Linked DNA regions of Homo sapiens: all the other regions are linked to region 1. Evidence: promoter capture Hi-C in 16 types of primary human blood cells and fetal thymus (Javierre and others, 2016). All regions are on one chromosome and are shown on one strand. Each heading gives the region's core, a stretch centred on a gene start or on the middle of the fragment in contact. The rest is flanking DNA. Distances are from core to core; before and after follow the strand shown.

Region 1 (2,971 bases), core at 247-2,746:
TTCTCATGTTTTTGGTTAGCTTTTTGGTCAAGCCAGCATGACTTTTTCATTTTTTATTATTATTTTTTTGAGACAGAGTCTCACTGTTGCCCAGGCTGGAGTGCAGTGGCATGATCTCGGTTCACTCCAGCTTCCGCCTCCCAGGTTCAAGCGACTCTCCTGCCTCACCCTCCCAAGTAGCTGGGATTACAGGTGCGTGCCACCACTAATTTAGCCCAGCTAATTTTTGTATTTTTAGTAGAGATTAGGTTTCGCCATGTTGGCCAGGCTGGTCTCGAACCCCTGACCTCAGGTGATCCGCCAGCCTCGGCCTCCCAAAGTGCTGGGATTACAGGCGTGAGCCACCATACCCAGCCAGCATGACTATTAACTGAAAAAAAAAAAAAAACCTCAGGGTGTGGAAGTGCTCAGAGGCATTCAATGCTGATGTAGCGTGTCAAGGAAGCAGTCTCTTAAGTGTTGGGCAAATGAAAGGAATAAGACAAAATGAAGTGTTTATCAAGCTCAAAAGCAGAAGGTTGTACCTGATTATTTCTAAGGTCTTTCATTTGCTCATTTAATCTAAGCTACTTCACATCATTTGAAGAGAAAGTAAATTATCTCGCTTTCTGAGATGCAGGAGAGATTCCCCGTCCCCAAATCCCACTATCATCAACAACACAACTTCCTCAAGTTCTTCACTCACACACATACCACCTGCTGAACCCTGAAGCTTCAGTCACTCATTCCTAGCTACTCCAACCACAAGGGACCTACGGGCCTGCCAACCAGGCACACGCCACGCCCTCCCTATGGTGGACTCCTATTCATCCTCCAAGACCCAATTTAACTCCTCCTCTCTGAAGCCTTCCCCTAGCCCCCTGGTGGGGATAATCACTCCCTTCTTGGTGCCTCATCCGAATGCCTTCTTTAGACATCCCTCTACTGTGCGTCTGCCCCATTATACTGTCAGCTCCTTGAGGCCAAGGAATAAGTCTGAGGGCTGTGCCTAGGATAGGATGAATGGCGGCCATTTTACAGATGAGAAAAGCAAGTCTCCAGGTGAACAGAGGAGCTGAGGAAACTGACCAACAGCCAGATCTCCCGACTCGTCCAGACTTTAAAAGCTGAGTCCACCATTACCCTCATCCAGCGACCCCAGAACCCGCGCCAACTTCTGGGGACGCGGAAGCCTGGAAACTCAAGTTTTCTTTAGGGAATGAATGGACAGGGGCCCGTGGAAGGCGCAGAGAGGCAGCAGACGGGGAGAGAACCAAGAACCCGCCAGTCTGGCTTCAGATTGCTCCGCTGGACCGCGGTAGCGGCCAGGGATTCTACGGTCAAGACAACTTGGGGGTGGCCGGTCGACCACCAGAACCCGACAGAGAGGAATTCACACTCTCAGACCCAGGCCGACCCCATCACAAGTAAGGACAGCCCCTCTCCAAAGCCCACCCGCCGCTGCTTCCTTACCAAGGAAAGACGGCCATCTTCCCAGTCACATGACCGCTTGTTCTGGGGCCGTCTGCTCGGCTTCCCATCCTTACCCCGCCACTCCCCGCACCCCTCGGCCGCCATGTTTGTGAAGGGCAGCTGGCCGCCCCGCAGCGGCCGCACAGCACCTTCTGCAGACGCCATGCTTGTGAGGGGCAGGCGACGCTCCGCACAGCACAGGCTTCATTTTCAGCTGACGCCATGCTTGTGAGGGGCAGCTCCCCGCTCCGGACAGCCCGGGTTACAACTCCCGCCGGCGCCATGCTTCGGAGGAGCAACGTCGGCCACGGCCAGAGTGCCGTAGTTTCTATGAGTCATGATTGTAAAGGGCAGCTGTCTACAGTGCCGGGTGGTCCCGCCTGCGGGCGTCATGATGGTAAAGGGCATGACTGCTGCTTAGCTCACCTGCGTCCTCTAGGGGCAGAAAGGACTCCAGAAGGCGGCGGAGCGAAGACGCAAACTGAGGTTCAGCCAGTACCTGGTTTTGCGGCTAATACGCTGTTTGGCGTGGGACAGCCATGCCCCCTCTAGGCCGCTGCTTTACCCACTGCTTTGCGGGCGGTTTTAGACACTTGCAGAATGCCCTTCCCACGACTAGCAACCGAGGGCTGCCCTAGATCTAATATGATTGACTACAGCTAATGCACGTGGGGAAATTAGGGTTCGCATTTCGTCCAACTTGGCAAAGCAGTGTTTCTAGGAAGGTGGATATCCATTTCGACCACAGAACGTTTTTAAAAATTATTTTAGGCCGGGAGCGGTGGCTCAGGCCTATGATCCCAGAACTTCGGGAGGCCGAGGTGGGTGGTTCACCTGATGTCAGGAGTTCGGGACCAGCCTGGCCAACATGGTGAAACCCCGTCTCTACTAAAAAATACAAAAACTAGTTGGGTATGGTGGCGGGCGCCTGTAATCCCAGCTACTCGGGAGGCTGAGGCAGGAGAATTGCTCCAACCCGGGAGGATGAGGTTGCAGTGAGCCGAGATTGCGCCATTGCACTCCAGCCTGGGCTACAAGAGCGAAACTCCATCTCAAAAAAAAATTTTTTTTTTAATTATTACTTTTATAACTTACTTAGATATCCATTATGGTCCCTTAGAGAGAAAGCATTCGATGTTTTTATAACTCTTACTTTTCATTCGGGGGTGGTGGTCTGTGGTTGTTCATGAGATGGTGACCTATGACAGGGAAAAGGATCATCTCCAGAACGGGCCCTCCAGTGTTCAGCTCAGTATGAGTAGGAAAGTATATCCACTCGTACCTGCTATTCCCAACACTGGAAGTGAACAAGGGTTAAAGGGTGGCCACGGGAAAGCAAGGAGCTCTTCCCATACAGCCATGCATGTTATCACATGCAACATCTCAATAAGAGGTCAAGGTGAGGAGCCTTTTCCTAGGCTCACACTGCATGATTAGGCAGTAACAAGAGGAGGATTCTTAAAGTTGTGCAAATTAACAGCTTTGATGTGAGCTTCAACCTTCGCATTCTCTTTTCTCC
Region 2 (2,971 bases), core at 226-2,725, 840 kb before region 1:
TGCTGTGGAATTGGTAAACTAATGGTTTACATAGATAAAACATCCAAACCATCTCTTTTGCTGCAGCCCTAATTTCTAATCTGAGACCCTCAATGGAGGTGTTAAAAGGCTTAGAGCCATACATTTACACAAACACATAACACACCTCAACACATTCCCCTTCCAAAAATGGTGCAGTGGATGGATAAGGCTGGGAAACCTGTCCAGTCCACATGAGAATAGAAGGCTCTGCTCTGTTTTAACCAGGGCAGAAGGGTGAGTTCATGGTTCTTTAATTCTTATGACTTAAGAACTGACACTAAATCTGAGGCTACAGAGGGAACCAATCAATTTCACATTCTTGAATTGCATTTGACACAACCAACATGCATACTTTAAACCTAAAGCCTTTCCACTAGCAGGTATTTCAAAGCAGTGAACTCAACAACAGCAGAAATTTTCTTATCTAAAAGGGACACTCAATTAATCTCATTACATTTGCATCTTTGATTCCTGCCAATACATAATTAAATTCAAAATGAGTTCTTAAAAAAACTAGCCGGCCTTCTAAAGTGGCCTTTGGAAAAACAAATCACTTGGGGAAAGCACTATGAAAGCTTTCTTCAAGGGTAAATGGGCTCTTTGCAAAAGAGATTATTTTCAGACACTGCCCCCAGGGACCACCCCAGTCTCAGATCCTTAATGGGTGACCAGCTTTCTCTTCTCTCTGAGAACTCCAGGCCAAGAGCCAGTGGTTGGGGGAGCTTTCCTCTCAATGTTCTTTGCAGTCCCACATTGTCCACATGTGGACATTGCCACATGTCCACGACAGACCTCAGCATCTTTGATTTGGTCCCAACAATCTGCTGCTCCTTATGTCCTGCCTTCACTGAAAGTACCACCATCCACTCAGTATCAAAGTCAGAAACCTCAAGGTTGTTCTTGATTCTTCTACTCTCACATGTAATCCATCACCACGTCCTGTGGATGCCACTTTCTAAATCCCTTTGCAATCTCTGTTCTCCCCATCCCACCACCACTGCCTTGGTTCAGGCCTCATTATTCCTCACCTGAACCACTGCAGCAGCCTCTGAGATGGTCTCCCTGCCTTCTCCAATGCTGTCCTGCAATGCATCCAGAGAGACTTCCTCTAAAATGCAAATCTGATCAGGTCATTCAGTAGCTAAGGTCTTCTGCTTGATCTAGCCCACAGCTACAGCCTCTGGGCCTTTGCACTTGCAGCTTCCATAGTATCCTTCCTACACTCCTTCACCTGGATTGTGAAGTTTATGCCCCTCATTGGTAGGCTGTACCCACCTTCACTCCCACTTAGTCTGGCTGGGAGGCCTTCCTATGCTCCCACTGCCTTCTTTTTAACCTCTCTCTCTCAGCATTCGCTATATGGTATCAAAACTGCTTTTCATCGTGTACATTGCATGATGTTGGGGGCCAAATCTTATTCATCTCCTGATTCCTAACATTCAGCATTGTGCTTGGAGCATGGTAGGCTTCCATAGATGTTAAATGAATGAATAGATGAATGAATGAGATTTCCTTTGGCCCATAATTTTCTCCATCCACATTAACTTGAATGAATCAAGGAGAGAAGGACTCACTACCATTAGTGGAGAGAGGTCAAGATAAGATTAGGAGCTGTCTAGGGTCCTTTATCACTTGTCCCTAAGGCAGAGGTGACAAGATTCTGTCCTAGGAGTAGGTTAGATGATGATGGTGAGCATGATGTGGAGACGGTAATGTGGATGGAATAATGATGAAGATGATGATGATGATGACAATGGTGATGATGGTGATGGTAATGATTATTAATTATAGTGGTGATGATGACAATGGCGATGATGGTGCTAATGATGATGATGATTAACTATGGTGATGATGACAATTTCGATGATGGTGCTGGTGATGACGATTATGATGATGATGACAATGGTGATGATGGTACTGGTGATCATGATTATTAACTATGGTGATGATGATGACAATGGCGATGATGGTGCTGGTGATAATTGTTATGATGGTGATGATGACAATGGCAATGATGGTACTGGTAATAATGATTATTAACTATGCTGATGATAATGACAATGGTGATGATGGTGCTGGTGACGATGATTGTTATGGTGATGGTGATGACAGTGGTGATGATGGTGCTGGTGATGATGGTTATGGTGATGATAATGACAACAATGGTGATGATAACAAAGGCCATTTATCAAGCACCTGTGTTTCAGGCACGGCACTTGAAAACCTTGTCCCCATCTTGTATATGAAGCACGTAGGTGTCAGAAAGGTTAGATCATTTGCCCAAGGTCACACAACTGGTAAGTGGTGAAGACTGGATTTGAGACCAAGCTTGACACCAAAACTGGTGCTAAATTCATCTTCTTGCACTGTGCTGATCATTGGAAACTTCATTCCTTCAGTATTTATTGAATACGGTTATTTCCCAGATATATTGTAGGCACTGAGGATATAGTGGTGAACAAAACAGGTGATCATCCTTGCCCTCCTGGAACTGACATCCTAGTGAGAGAAGACAAAAGAAAAATAAGTAAAATATATAGTATTTCCTACGGTTAAAAGTACTATGGAGAAAAATACACAAGAGTGATAGGGAATGCATGGGGTGGATGGAGATGGGGCTGTAGTATTAAATAGGATGGCCAGGGACAGCCTCCCTGGAAAGGTAACACTTTAGCAAAGATCTTAAGGTGGTGAGGCAGTGATCCATGCAGATTTAGGGCAGAAGGAACAGAGAGTAAAAATACCCTGGGGTGAGGGAGATTGTGCCCATTTGGCTAAAGATATAGGGTTTCTGAAGAGAAGAGGACTAAGAAATGAGGCCAGAAAAATAGGGAGGTACAGATCTTTTAAAAACTTAAAGGCCATTGCAATGGTCAAAACAAATTGGTGGCTGGCCCCTGAGAAACAAGAAGAGATTGATGACAATCCTGAAGTCCCTATCAGCTGTGAG
Region 3 (2,971 bases), core at 346-2,845, 610 kb after region 1:
AGAAAGAAAGAAAGAAAGAAAGAAGAAAAAGGAAAGAGAAAGAAAGAAAGAAAGAAAGAAAGAAAGAAAGAAAGAAAGAAAGAAAGAAAGAAAGAAAGAAAGAAATCTGTGGGGAACACTTTCAGACCATAGCAATGCTCAATCGATGCTATAATATTTAGTGTTTCTGCCTTTGCTCTGTTGCCCAGGCTGGAGTGCAGTGGCACAATCACAGCTTACTGCAGCCTTGAACTCTTGGGCTCAAATGATTCTTTTGCCTCAGTCTCCCAAGTAGCTGGGACTATAGGTGAGTGCCACCATGCTCAATTAATTTATTGTTTTTATTGTTTTGCAGACATAGGGTCTCACTATGTTGCCCAGGGTGGTATTGAACTCCTGGCTTTAAGTGATCCTCTTGCTTCACCCTCCCAAAGTGTGGGGATTACAGGCATGAGCCACCACACCCAGCCCTGGTGTTACTATGTTTATTATTACATTATAAACTCCTTGGAGTTAAGGGTGGGGTCTTATTAAAACCAAACGTGGCAATTCCTAACTTGTAGGCAGCAGGTTGTGTTCCAAAAGTGTATACCTCAGAGCTTTTTTCCCACAGAGACAGCATCAACTGCTTATTTCCCAAGGCAAATCTGGAAACACTTATTTAAACTATAAGGTGACTTAAATATTGCACAACTGCAATTAAAAAAAAACTCAGAAAACAGCACTGATATAATGGAAATACAGCAGGAGAAGCAGCTCTTGCAGGTTCTTTTTTACAAGAGATGATAAAAGGCTTCTTGCTTGTGAATGGCCCTTGAGACTCTAAGGCAGGATTAATTAGAAGACCAAGAACAAGAGTTCACACTTCAAGATTCTGAAGGAGGCTTCTAGGGATGTTTAAGGGCCTTTAAGAGGGATGAGTCTAGGTTTTTAAATTTGTTTAATTGCACTTAAAAATGTATAACTTTCCTTTTCCTTGAGCCAATTTTCTGTAACATTGTTTCCACACATATCCTTAAAGTATCATCTTCAGGCCAATGATTCTCAAATTTGCCTATTTAGGCCACATGTTTATAGACCCTACTCCTGGCTTGACATGTGCACTTGGCAATCTCATGCACATCTCAGATTTAACATGGTCAAAACAGAACTCTTGACTCCAATTTGCCTCTGTCCAGGCCTTTCTTATCTCAGTAAATGGCACCAACACACTGGTTACTCACATCAAAACTTGGGAAATAGCTTTCTTTTCTTTTCTTTTCTTTTTTTTTTTTTTTTGAGATGGAGTCTAGCTCTGTTGCCCGGGCTGGGGTGCAGTGGCACAATCTCGACTCACTGCAACCTCCGCCTCCCGAGCTCAAGCGATTCTCCTGCCTCAGCCTCCCAAGTAGCTGGGATTACTGGTGCCTGCCACCACACCCAGCTAATTTTTGAATTTTTTTTTTTTTTTTGAGACGGAGTCTTGCTCTGTCACCCAGGCTGGAGTGCAGTGGCGCGATCTCGGCTCACTGCAAGCTCTGCCTCCCGGGTTTACGTCATTCTCCTGCCTCAGCCTCCCAAGTAGCTGGGACTACAGGCGCCCACCACCATGCCCGGCTATATTTGTTTTTTTTTTAGAGATGGGGTTTCACCATGTTAGCCAGAATGGTCTCGATCTCCTGACCTTGTGATCTGCCCGCCTCGGCCTCCCAAAGTGATAGGATTACAGGTGTGAGCACCCGCGCCCGGCCAATTTTTGTATTTTTTTAGTAGAGATGGGGTTTCGCCATGTTGGCCAGGCTGGTCTCGAATTCCTGACCTCAGGGGAGGTCTTCTTTAGAAGCAGCTGGGAGCGGTGGCTCATGCCTGTAATCCCATTCCTTTGGGAGGCCAAGGTGAGTGGATCACCTGAGGTCAGGAGTTTGAGACCAGCCTGGCCAACGTGAGGAAATCCCGTATCTACTAAAAATACAAAAATTAGCTGGGCATGGTGGTGGGTGCCTGTAATCCTAGCTAATGGGGAGGCTGAGGGAGGAGAACTGCTTGAACCTGGGAGGCAGAGCTTGCAGTGAGCTGAGATTGTGCCATTGCACTCCAGCCTGGGTCACAAGAGCAAAACTCCATCTCACAAATTAAATAAATAAATAAATAAAAATAAACTCTTTAGAAGAAAGAACATATAAACAAGAGTGGTAGTTTTAGACTAACAGAAACCAATATGGTAGCCACTAAGCACTTATAGCTACTGAGCACTTAAAATGTGGCTACTTTGTATTGAAATATGCTGTAAGTAAAATACACACTGGCTTTCAAGGCTTATCAAAAACAGAATGCAAAATATCTCATTAATAATTGTATATTGATTACATGAAGTGATAATATTTTGGATAAAATATATTGTTAAAATGAATTTCACCTGTTTTTAATTTCCTCAAATATGACTACTAGAAAGTTTAGAATTACATATGTGGCTCAAATTATATATTTTTTTCTTTTTCTTTTTTTTTGAGAGAGAGTCTCCCTCTGCTGTCCAGGCTGGAGTGCAGTGGCGCAATCACAGCCCACTGCAGCCTTGACTCCCTGGGCTCAAGTGATCCTCCCACCTCAGCCTCCCAAGTAGCTGGGACTACAGATGTTCATCACCACACCCAGCTAATTCTTTTGAGGGGGAGGGGCGGGGAGTTATGGAGGTCTTGCTGTGTTGCTCAGGCTAGTCTGAAACTCCTGGGCTCAAGCTATCCTCCCACCTTGGGCTCCCAAAGTGCTGGGATTACAGGCATGCACCACCACACCCAGTCCCATTTTCATACCTCGAGGGGCTATGTTCTAAGAAACATAATTTGGGAAATACTGTTTCAAAGATTAGTGTTAATGATTTATTTTATAATTTATTTATTTTTCTTAGACCACAGAATGAGATTATTTTTGAAAATGGTGGGGAGGGTAGTATTGATCCTAGGAATCAAGTAGTATTTCCTCTCTTTTCAAATTTATATCTTCAAACTCAGGTATT

The links. The method cuts DNA at HindIII sites, captures the fragments that hold promoters and counts their contacts. A CHiCAGO score of 5 or more calls a contact.
Region 2: a fragment that was not itself captured here is called in contact with the fragment with the promoter of VPS35L in region 1 in 1 of 17 cell types (naive CD4 T cells); the score reaches 5.0 in naive CD4 T cells.
Region 3: a fragment that was not itself captured here is called in contact with the fragment with the promoter of VPS35L in region 1 in 1 of 17 cell types (monocytes); the score reaches 6.0 in monocytes.

What each region holds. Positions count from the first base shown.
Region 1 is chr16:19,554,228-19,557,198 of GRCh38, reverse strand. VPS35L (VPS35 endosomal protein sorting factor like) reads right to left here and starts at 1,496. Exons shown (of 31, transcript NM_020314.7): 1 at 1,453-1,496. The coding sequence starts at 1,469. RefSeq lists enhancers at 812-1,041, 900-1,862, 1,422-1,901. The HindIII fragment of the contact is 7,423 bases long and covers 715-2,971 here.
Region 2 is chr16:20,390,157-20,393,127 of GRCh38, reverse strand. All of the region lies in intron 2 of PDILT (protein disulfide isomerase like, testis expressed), which reads left to right. Among named protein-coding and RNA genes, the nearest start is that of PDILT, 13 kb to the left of the region's middle. The HindIII fragment of the contact is 1,753 bases long and covers 599-2,351 here.
Region 3 is chr16:18,939,759-18,942,729 of GRCh38, reverse strand. No RefSeq gene overlaps it. Among named protein-coding and RNA genes, the nearest start is that of SMG1, 15 kb to the right of the region's middle. The HindIII fragment of the contact is 5,220 bases long and covers 1-2,971 here.